3 separate regions of the Homo sapiens genome follow, and all the other regions are linked to region 1. The links are contacts of gene promoters, found by promoter capture Hi-C in human tissues and cell types (Jung and others, 2019). All regions are on one chromosome and are shown on one strand. Each heading gives the region's core, a stretch centred on a gene start or on the middle of the fragment in contact. The rest is flanking DNA. Distances are from core to core; before and after follow the strand shown.

Region 1 (3,872 bases), core at 815-3,314:
TTATCTCATATTATCACAGAGGAAAAAGTACTGTATAATTATATATACCCTTCAGTATATGATTAATAGTCATTATAATTAATATTTTTAAATTAATTTGTGATTTTTGTTGCAGGATTCATTTTTTAGTAAAAGCTTTTATATCCTATATGTAAGATAACTCCCTATTCCTGTGATATAACTTGTGTTAGATTATGGGTTCTGGAAGGCAAGTAACAGACTTAAAAAAATTCACTTAACTTCCAATCATATATTGTTTTTATATTGTATATTCAGTTGGTGGACAACATGAGGGCTTTTGAGTTAGGGAAGGGAAAGAATCACTTAATACTGAAATAACTTATTGTAGGAGCCTGATGAATCTTTTCCTTTGGAAAGCAGACAGTTTTAGTGTGGTGTCATCTATAATAGGAGGTCTTGAGGACGTTAGAGAATCTTAGAACTCAATTATTATCCATGTTTTTACACCCCTTTCAGTAATGATTTGGAAAAAGATGTAAAAATTTCAAAAAGGGACAGGTGAACTGTGGGCTCTGCATAGTATGGTAATTAAAAGGTTGGGTTTTACAAACAGACTCAATAGTGCCAAGAAAAGGATGGGTGGGTTTTCGTTTTCCCATCTCCATCATATTCTCAATATTCCTCAAATAATAGCAATACTAAGATTAAAAATATACACGTAAATGGGAAGAAAAGCCTATGTAGAAAATTTTGCTATAAAATAAAGGGCTTTAACACAAATATTATTTCTAGACTATTCCCTCCCCTTAATCCCTATCAGCCCTCTAACACATTTGAAGCTCCTAATGAATAGTAGCCCCCTGAAGCTGCTAGGTCAAACTGCCTGAACTTGAAGACGGGCCTTCCACTTATTAGTGATTGAGTTACTTAAAATAAGAATGATAAAAACCTGCTTCATGAGGTGTACTCCTCACTTTATAACTTTCACCTGCTGCTATCTGTTCTATTTTAGGAATTTATCATTTTTTGAGGAAATTAAAAGAACAGAGATAAAATCCCTGTCATTTATAAAACTCACAGGATAAAAACAAAAAACCCCTCTGTCGTGGGTTCTTCTGTCCATATGTAACAATCTGTTTCATACCTGGATCTCATATATGAAAACCTAAATTATTGTATAAGATACACGAGAGTGGATTTATCAGACAAACGTGTATTTCACTAATGCAAGGAATTTAACCTATCAAAGACTTTCCCTATTTGCTGCAGAAAATTTTAGAAATGCAAGCAATAAAATCAAAATTTAAAAAAATCTTATATTTGGCATGTCGAAGAACTCTTATACTTCCAAAAGTGTAGTTATTTGTAGTTAGTGATGAACCTCTCTACACATCTTAGCCCTATGTAATGTTGGGGGTAGAAAAGGAGTTTAGAGATTTTGAGAAATCTTAGGCTAGTTGAAATACTTCAGAAACGTCAGGATGTTGAATTACCATCCCTCTGACTTAGAGAAATACCAACACTCGGGAAGATTACCATCAGAAACAACTTTGAAAAGTTTAATTTTGTCACTGTTTTTAAAATTAGAAATAATGTAAATAAAGTACTGAAACAAAGTAGTCTCACAATAAATAGTAGCTATTCCTGTCACTTGTTGCAGTGGAGGCCCAATATACATTGTATTCTCATATTTGTACTTCCTCCCAACATCTAGCGCATATTTGGCCAACATATAAATATTTATCGAAAGAATGAATGACATCAATGACAGGTTGGTAGCACTCCGCTGTCCGATGGTCCAGGTTAGGCCGTGAGGCCACGAGGAAACTACGGATAAAACAGTATCCAATTTGCCTATACCGCCTGCTAAACTACAAGTCCCAGTACGCAAACTCCATGGTTTCAGGGCATACTGGGAGAAAGTCTCCGGCTCTTCATTGGCCACGTAGGAGAAGCTGTGGTTTGTGTAAAAGCGCGGGCTTAACGCACGTACGCACGGAGACTGCGCAGATCTCCTCGTCTGAGTTCCGCGGAACTCATTTTGAGTGTAGGCGTTTTAGCCGGTAGGGTTTAAGAACAGTTTCATTTCCGGAGCCACCGGAAGCAGCTTGCAAATGGCGTCTCCCTCGCTGGAGCGGCCAGAAAAAGGCGCTGGAAAAAGTGAATTTCGTAACCAGAAGCCGAAGCCGGAGAACCAAGGTGATGTTATGTGGGAACCGAAGCCTGGGGTTTGTGTACGTTGAGTTGCGATGTTTTTTTCTTTCGTTCCTCGTGGACTTATAAAACCACCTGGAGCCTGTACTGTGTAGTTGAGTACCTGAATAATCGCTGATAAGATTTTGGCTGGGCCCACAGGAACGGCTGGCCGATATGGTGCCACCCAGGTGTTCCTAATTCATTGCTTTTGCTAAAGGGTCCCCAAAGCGAAGCTGTTGCGGATTACGTCTTTTGTAAAAGGATGAGTATTAAGAAAATGCCTAGGGCGACGCAGAACCTTGTAAGCCTGCGGGTGGCTGAAAGTCACTGACGGAATGAGGAATAGGGTGAGGTGGGAATAGGTAGTCATGATATACAAGAGTGGACCCTGATAATGGGGTGAGGTATGGGGAAAGGAGCTATCCGACATGTCCTTAGCTCTAGTTTGTCAGTAAAGACATTTTGAAAGATTATCAATTCCTGTTTGTCAGATGCTAAAATATTAGACGACACAGCCCTTACTGTTTAGGTTGTGTTACCTTTTAATTGTTAACTCCTGCGTTGTAGTCTGGTTTTACCCGTTTTCTTCAGTGTGAATGATAGAGAAGTCATAAATAGCCTGGGGATCTGTTCAACCAGGCTTATAGGAAGTGTTAAAAACATTGAACTCTCAATTTAGATGCATTGGGAAAGTATTCAAAGTTTCTTTGTTGTTGCTCATTAAATGATTATGTAACGTACATAGCAGGGGATACAACTTATATAGAGTTTAATAAAACCATGCGGGAAACTAGCATTCAGACTAAGTAAAATAGAGCATTACCATACCCCTCAAACCCTTACGTGCACCTCTCAGATCATATTCTCTTTTCCTGTATCAGACGTAACCACCCTGAATTGTGTTGCATTCTGTTCCTCTTCTTGTAGTCATGAAGTGGCTTAATTTAGCCTGTTTTTTAATTTTATATACATGAAAGTGGACCGTATGCATTTTTCTGTGTCTTCTTAGATTTAGCTTTTTGTTTTTCAAACAGGGTGATACTTGCGGGTGTAGTTTTAGTCTTTTCACTGTTATGTGGTGTTTCCTTGTATGAATATACCCCAATTTATTTTTTCATTTTACTATCGGTGGACATTTGGATTGTTCCCAATTGCTTGCAATTATAAACAATACTGCTAAAACATCTTTGTACATGTCTTCTGGTTAACATGTTCAAGGGTTTCTCTAGGTTGTGAACATAGGATTGGAATCACTGAAGTGTAGGGTGTGTGTAAGTAATGCTAACTTTTTTCCAAAGTGCTAGTGTCAGTTTTGTTCCCACTAGGAGTGGACGAAAGTTGTCATTGCCTTACATTAGTATGAATACATGTTATCTGAATTTTGAATTTCTGTCATTTTGGTAGTTATGAAATGGTATTTGGTTGCAGTTTTAGTTTGCATTTTCTGATCACCTATGAGGTTGCATATCTTTTCACATGTTTTGAGGCTTCCTTAATTGTGAAACTCCTGAGTATTTCTTTTGTCAGTTTTTTTCCTGAGGTTGTAGTGGGGATTTTAAAAAAAATTATCCATAGCCTTTGAAGTGTTTAAATTGGATAGGGACTTCGTCAGGTAAACATTGTAAGTAACTAGTTGCAGTGACTCACACCTGTAATCCCAGCACTTTGGCAAGCTGAGGAGGGGGGATTGCTTGAGCCCAGGAGACCAGTCTGGT
Region 2 (3,710 bases), core at 543-3,042, 600 kb before region 1:
TGTTTCTCTCTTTCTTCCCTCACTCCCTCCCTCCCTTCCTTCCTTCCCCTTCCTTTCCCTTCTTTCCCTTCCTTCCTTTCTTTTCTTTTGAGACAGGGTCTCACTGTGTTGCCCAGGCTGAGTGTAACAGCACAAACACAGCTCACTGCACACTCAACCTCCCAGGCTCAAGCAATCCTCCCACCTCAGCCTCCCAAGTAGCTGGGACTACAGGGACTACATGCTTATGCCACCACACTTGATTAACTCTTTTGTGTATTTTTTTTTTGTAGAGATGGGGTTTTGCCATGTTGCCCAGGCTGGTCTTGAGCTCCTGGCCTCAAGTGATCTGCCAGCTTTGGCCTCCCAAAGTGCTGGGATTACAGGCACAAGCCACCCTGCCCAGTGAGGTTTTTTTTTTTTTTTTTTTGAGATGGAGTCTCCATCTGTTGCCAAGGTTGGAGTGCAGTGGTGCGATCTCAGCTAACTGCAACCTCTGCCTCCCCAATTTAAGTGATTCTCCTGCCTCAGCCTCCTGAGTAGCTGGGATTATAGGCATGGGCCACTAATTTTTGTATTTTTAATAGAGACGGGGCTTTATCATGTTGGTCAGGCAGGTCTCGAACTCCTGACCTCATGATCCGCCCGCCTCGGCCCCCCAAAGTGCTGGGATTTCAGGCATGAACAACTGTGCCTGGCATGCCCAGTGAGATTTTTAATTGTCCCTGGCTCTCTAGGTGTTGGTCATTTGTACCTCACGTACCACACTCAACCTGTTCATTACCGTAAGTCTTCAGGACACCACCTGTTTTCTGCCTAGGTGGATCACAAAAAAGTGTTAGGGCCTTTTTATAGTTTGAAGTCAAGTCTTGTTGCTCAGATCATACTTTCCTATTCAACCCCTCTCTTCTCTGCTCCCTCAAAAGTAGTAACAATAAAACCTATAGGTACTTTTTCATTTTCCTCCACTGAAACATTGAGCTCATTCAGGTCTCCAGGTCTGCTCCCAGATTCAGCTCCAGGACCCCAGTGAGGCCTCTAAAAGTCCGTCTAATTCAGTTTTTATACAAGGGATATTTTTCTCCAGCCTGTCCAAGGTGAGGATGTCCAATTCTTTAACTTTCAATAGAAAATATTAAGTCAGATAAAATCACAAACTTTAACACAATTATCACTTGCAAGAGCTTACAAATCTTCCTTGTTCAATTCTGAAGAGCTAAATAAAAATGCCTTCAGTACATAAGGAGCACTCAACCTATAAATAGGATCCATTCCCAAGTATACATTGGTTGTTTAGAATGCTAAACATGTTTTTGTTTAAACAAAGATTTATTGAGAGCCTAATGTGTGCTAGTCACTTTTTCCATGAAAACAATAGAATGAGTATTATTTCGGTTCCAGGGCCAGCTCATTAAAGCCTTTTTACCTAACGTGGAATTAAACTATACCACAAATTGCGCAAGTCTTTTTTTTTTTTTTTTGAGGCAAGGTCTCGTTCTATTGCCCAGTCTGGAATGCAGTGGTGCTATCACAGTTAACTGCAGCATCAACCTCCAGGGCTCATGTGGTCCTCCTACCTCAGCCTCCAGAGTAGCTGGGAATACAGGTGTGAGCTTCTACCACACTACCACCAACCCCCATGACAACACTGCCCCCCACCCCCGGTGGCAAGTAATATCTTTGAGTCTTGGAAACAGCAGACCACGTGATAAGAGAGGAGGGAGAAGAAGGAGAAAGAATAGAACTTTCTCTCCCTGTTGTGGCAACTGACTAGCCCTAGGACCAATGATTAGTAAATACTTATTTGAGTCTAGGTGCTATTCTAAATGCTTTACATAAGTAGCTGTTTAAACATATTAAGCATATGTTTTGGTTTGTGTTGTCATTCATCTTCCTTCTGTACCCCTTCTCTACTCTTTGAGAGCCTCTCTCTATGGTGCAGGGTACAGCTGTGGACCTGGGCACTCCCTCTGCCTCTTGCACTGGCCAATTCTACCCACCAAAGTGTTCCATGCTCTCCATGTCCTATTCTCCAACCTCTACTCATCAAAATCCCCATTTTCTCAGTGTAGCTAATCTCAGGTGCTAGGAAGAAACTTTCCAGAGATTGATTGATTGATTGATTGATTGATTGATTTGGAGATGGAGTCTCACTCTGTCGCCCAGGCTGGAGTGCAATGGCGCAATCTCGGCTCACTACAACCTCCGCCTCCTGGGTTCAAGTAATTCTCTTGCCTCAGCCTCCAGAGTAGCTGGGATTGCAGGCACCCGCCACCATGCCTGGCTAATTTTTTTGTATTTTTTTTAGTAGAGACGGAGTTTCATCATGTTGGTCAGGCTGGTCTTGAGCTCCTGACCTCAGGTGATCCATCTGCCTTGGCCTTCCAAAGTGCTGGGATTACAGGTATGAGGCACTGTGCCCAGCCGAGATGCTTTTATTTTTAAAGAGGATACCTCAGAAATCAAATGCATTTCTTTTTTTTTTTTTTTTTTTTTTTTGAGACAGGGTCTCACTCTGCATAGTGCAGTGACACAATCACAGCTCACTATAGCCTTGAACTCCTAAGCTCAAGCAATACTCTCACCTCAGCCTCCCGAGTAGCTGGGGCTACAAGCATGTACCACCAGGTCCAGCTAAATTTTATTTTTAAAATTTTTTGTAGAGACACGATCTCGCTATGTTGCCCAGGTTGATATTGAACTCCTGACCTCAAGCAATCCTCCCACATCAGCCTCCCACAGTATTGGGATTATAGGCAAGAGCCACCGTGCCCAGCATCAAATGCATTTCTGGTGGCATTCAGGCAGATGGATCTGGCAGTGAAGGGCTGGCAAGGGGGTCCTGGTTACTGGGTAGAAGTGTTGGTCCTTCTTAAGAGTCAGTCCTGGCCAGGTGTGGTGATGTGCACCTGTAATTCCAGCTACTCAGGAGGCTGAGACGGGAGGATTGCTTGAGCCCGGGAGGTCCCGGCTGCAGTGAGCTATGATTGCACCACTGCATTCCAGCCTGGGTGACAGAGCAAGACCTTGTCTGTAAAAAAATCAGTCCTTGGAGGCCACACCTCAGAGCCATTTCTATTTTTATAGCCTCTTCCCTTCTCCACTTCTGAACATAAAGGAAGCACAGGGGGAAAGTACCAGCTAAGGTAAATTAGCACCCTCAGCTTCTCTTAAATTCTGTAGAACACAGCAAGGCAGGGGCAGTGAAGACAGTTGTGAAGGAGATGGAGTCGTCATTGTGACCAGTTTCCTATTCTTGTTGCTAATGTGCTAACAACTGTATCTGCTGACTACTGACTGACCCATATGAAAATTAATTCATATTTACCCAACTTCGGGGGACCTATCATAAAGAAAGTCTTTTTTTTTTTTTTTTTTTTTTTTGAGACAGGGTCTCACTGTGTCACCCAGGCTGGAGTACAATGGTGTGATGTCGGCTCACTGCAACCTCTGCCTCCTGGGTTCAAGTGACTCTCCTGCCTCAACCTCCTGAGTAGCTGGGACTATAGGCATGTGCCACCATGCCCAGCTAATTTTTGATTTTTAGTAGATATGGGGTTTCACCATGTTGGCTAGGCTGGTCTCAAACTCCTGGCCTCAAGTGATGCACCGGCCTCAGCCTCCCAAAGTGCTAGGATTACAGGCACGAGCCACCATGCCCAGCCGGAAAAGAAAGTCTTAAAATTAATTTCAACAAATCCTTAGCCCCTGATGGTATTTTTTTCTATCAG
Region 3 (4,041 bases), core at 1,162-3,661, 890 kb before region 1:
TATTTCAACTATTAAAAGATAACATTGCTTTGGCTACTTTTGTGCTAAGAATAACTAAATAATTATATATGTTCTTAGAAATACTCTTAAAAAATAGAATGTAAAATCTACAGATGATCTTATTTAACTTCACATTGTAGGTTTGTATACTGATTAGTTTTAACTTTTTTATATTTATGGATTTAACATGGATTCATTTTTAAAGACATATAGGGAAAATTCTATTGAAAATTGACATTTGCTTAAATCATAGCAATAAATGAGAAAAATGTCACATAATTTTAACATTAATTTTTATGCGACGTGTAGAAAATCTGAAGGATTTAATTTCTCTTGTTTCTGTATGATTTCAGTCTGAATCTAAACTTTATAATGGCTCAGAGAAGGACAGTTCAACTTCAAGCAAACTCACAAAAAAAGAATCTCTTAAGGTTAGTTTCCAGTTGTTTCTGAAAGGTAATTTACATTGTGCTTTGCATGTGTGTTTGGAAGTAGACTAATAGGATAAATATATATGTGTGTTCCTAAAGAAAGAAAAAACATCCAGTGGTACAGACAGGCAGGCACACATAGAAAATGTTAATATTTGTATGGTACACTGTGGTCAACTGATAAGATTGATTGATGACTGTCACAGAGCAGACTGCTTTAGGCCTCAAATGGCAACTGCAGAGGCTGAGGATGTGTTATCTCTGTACAGCTGTATCCAAACTAGGTATATTATCACTATGTTGTGGAACTCCTAATGGGAACTCTGGCACCCATTGAAATTAGAGATTGCTAACTCCTGGGTCATGGCCTGAACTTGACCTGCATAATGTTTTAAAATTTTGACCCAACAGTTAATTAAAAGTCCAGATTTCCAATTTCTCTGAGAAATATGTAGCACTGGGCTTACCTTCCTGAGTGGCCATAGAATCTGGAGCTTAAGAAACACATGCTTTCCAACTGGCTCTGGTTCCTAACTAGTCTATTTTACCATTTGTGTTCCATGCCTGGTCCTATATATATTTGTATTTGCATCCCATATTAAATCAGATAGGTTAATAAAGACCAAAATCTAAAGTTTTGAGGGTATAGAATTATTAAAATTGTATTATGTCTAGTCTGTTTATCATTAAATGCAACTTTTCTGGTGGAAGATTTTGTTAGTTTTTAAAAATGTAGTCACTAATAGGTTATCATCACTCTTTTCCCATCCAAATTATAACAACAAAGCAACAATAAGACCTCATTATTCACTGCTAATTCCTCAAATTATCAGAATTAACTTATGAAGGTGAAACTTTCATATTTTGGATAAATTAATTTTATAGTTATGGTTTCTTAATTATTTATAACTTACATATTAGTATTGGGAAAGAGAGCAAAACTTCCAATTGCAAACAGTTGTGGCATTCTTTGTTATTTGAAAAAATTGGTAACAGAGAAGGTTTCTATCAGTAAGAGAATATATTAATAAATATTATAGAAGCAGTATAGGCCAGTGGTTAAAAAAATAGCTTTGGGAGCTAGTTTGCCCCTGTTTGAATCCTGACCCTACAATTTACTAAATGTGTGATTCTGAGCAGGTTACTGTCTCTGCCTCAGTTTTCGTGTCTGTAAAATAAGGATAATAATACTTCTACTTCACAAGGTTGTTGTGAGGATTAAATGACGTAATGACAATACAAGTAAAGTGCTTAGAACTGTGGCTGGTTCACAGAATGCCCTCAGGGTTAGCTCTCTTATTATTTTAATTTGCAGTTGGAATCCTATGTAACATTTAAAATAATGAGAATGATACAGACATGAATACTCTTCAAAAAATGTTTATTGGGGGACCTTTTTGCATGCTGAACACAACATCTACATGTTTCTATAGGTTGTTACTTAGAAAAGGTCTGAAAAGACAGTGTTTTCCAGAAGGTTAACAGTCATCAATTCAGAGGATTGGAATAGGTTGGGGGTATAATAAAAATGGGTTCTAGCTTTATGTTTGAAATTTTTATTGTGAGGCTGTGTTTATGCATTGTGTAATTAAAAAGAGGTAAAATTGGCCAGGTGTGGTGGCTCACGCCTGTAATCCCAGCACTTTGAGAGGCGGGCGGATCACTTGAGGCCAGGAGTTCAAGACTATTCTGGCCAACATAGTGAAACCCCATCTCTACAAAAAATACAAAACTTAGCCAGGCATGGTGGCATATGCCTGTAATCCTAGCTGCTTGGGAGGCTGAGGCACAAGAATTGCGTTGACCCAGGAGGCGGAGGTTGTAGTGAGCTGAGATTCCGCCACTGCACTCCAGCCTGGGTTACAGAATGAGACTGTCTCAAAAAAAAAAAAAAAAGGTAAAATTATTTAAAAGATACATAGAACTGGACTAGTGATCAGAAAAACTAGATTCTAACCTTGGTTGTCTAAGACTAACTCCTGCTCAAAAAAAAAAAATACAGTATTTTTATTGTAAGATTCTGGAATTCTACAGCGGTTTAGACTTTTCTACTCCACCATTATAGTATGAAATTCTAAACCTCTTTAGAATACTAGATTAGGATAAAAGACAGTGTGGTGATTCCACAAAGACCTAAAGACAGAACTACCATTCGACCTAGCAATCCCATTACTGGGTATATAACCTAGGGAATGTAATCATTCTGTTATAAAGACACATGCATGTATATGTTCATTGCAGCACTGTTCACAATAGCAAAGACATGGAATCAACCTAAATGCCCATCAATGAGAGACTGGATAAAGAAAACGTGGTACACCATGGAATACTATGTGGCCATAATAAAGAATGACATCATGTCTTTTACAAAGATATGGATGGAGCTGGAGGGCATTATCCTTAGCAGACTAACTCAGAAACCAATACTGCATGTTCTCACTTAGAAGTGGAAGCAAAATGATGAGAACACATGGACACACAGAGGGACACAACACACACTGGAGCCTTTCAGAGGGTGAGGGTGGGAGGAGGGAGAGGATCAGGAAAAGTAACTAATGGGTACTAGGCTTAATACCTGAATGATAAAATATGTACAACAAAACCCCATGACACAGGTTTACCTATATAACAAACCTGCATTTGTACCCCTGAACTTAAAATAAATTGCTCATTTCTGTTGAGTTTTTATCTTTTCTATTATTTCTATAAAATAGGTACAAAAGAAAAATTACCGAGAAGAAAAGAAAAGAGCCACAAAGGAGCTGCTCAGTACAATCACAGATCCTTCTGTTATTGTTATGGCTGATTGGTTAAAGGTCAGTGTGTTTTGAATCATGAATTCAGATTGCTGGATGTTTACCTACTGGAATGGAAAAGCCTGGAGTATACCTAACGCCTACAAGACAAAAACAGCTCCTAAAATGATTGTTTTTCACTGGCAAAGAAACTATTATTGTATTCCCGGAGGTTCTGTGTTCCCATCTTAATGAAGAGAAGGAATCTTAATGTCTTTCTTAACAATAGCATCAATTACATACAGTATAGTTCTTTTAAAAAAGCTTTTTGGTTTGTGTGATATGTTGTCTAATACAATATGCTGTAAAAAATACATTGCTTGCTATTCCAATTATTGTTAAGTATTCCATATACTTGGTATATTATTGAAAGGATGAGACAAACTTAATATAAAAGCTATTTTAAAATAATCAGTTGGATACATAATATATTGTTAAAAAATGAAAATTGTTAATTATCAGACAAGCACACATTGCTGTTTCCAGACCCTATTCTTTTGGCCTCTGGTTATTTTTCTTTCCTTTTCTTTCATCCTGGTCACTCTATCCTCTTTCTCATTCTTATCTGAAAGACAGCTGTAGGAATCCTGAGTTTAAGAGTGATCTCGTAGGACTCTGACTCACAGAAAATTTTAGTACTTGGCATGTACCTGAGAATCACCCCAACCCACTTTTGCCAAGACTTACTAAGGCCTCTGACCTCATAATCCTTATGAAATCTGTCATAGGACTCCCCTCACTAAAATGAGAGTCTAGTGATAGTTTCCCTGACAATTCAGTTAACTAATTCTAGGGTTTTCGATCTTGTGCTAATA

Evidence for each region. The method cuts DNA at HindIII sites, captures the fragments that hold promoters and counts their contacts. A contact is called where the count stands out against the background at its distance.
Region 2: a fragment that was not itself captured here is called in contact with the fragment with the promoter of KRR1 in region 1 in 1 of the 25 tissues and cell types used here (small bowel).
Region 3: a contact is called between a fragment that was not itself captured here and the fragment with the promoter of KRR1 in region 1, in 1 of the 25 tissues and cell types used here (lymphoblastoid cells).

The regions. Positions count from the first base shown.
Region 1 is chr12:75,509,801-75,513,672 of GRCh38, reverse strand. It overlaps KRR1 (KRR1 small subunit processome component), which reads left to right and starts at 2,064. Exons shown (of 10, transcript NM_007043.7): 1 at 2,064-2,160. The coding sequence starts at 2,076. RefSeq lists enhancers at 2,097-2,256, 1,763-2,306, 2,307-2,851. The HindIII fragment of the contact is 10,159 bases long and covers 1-3,872 here.
Region 2 is chr12:76,107,808-76,111,517 of GRCh38, reverse strand. No RefSeq gene overlaps it. Among named protein-coding and RNA genes, the nearest start is that of NAP1L1, 25 kb to the right of the region's middle. The HindIII fragment of the contact is 6,893 bases long and covers 1-3,710 here.
Region 3 is chr12:76,399,079-76,403,119 of GRCh38, reverse strand. OSBPL8 (oxysterol binding protein like 8) reads left to right here. Exons shown (of 24, transcript NM_020841.5): 6 at 354-431; 7 at 3,146-3,247. Among named protein-coding and RNA genes, the nearest start is that of BBS10, 53 kb to the right of the region's middle. The HindIII fragment of the contact is 6,988 bases long and covers 1-4,041 here.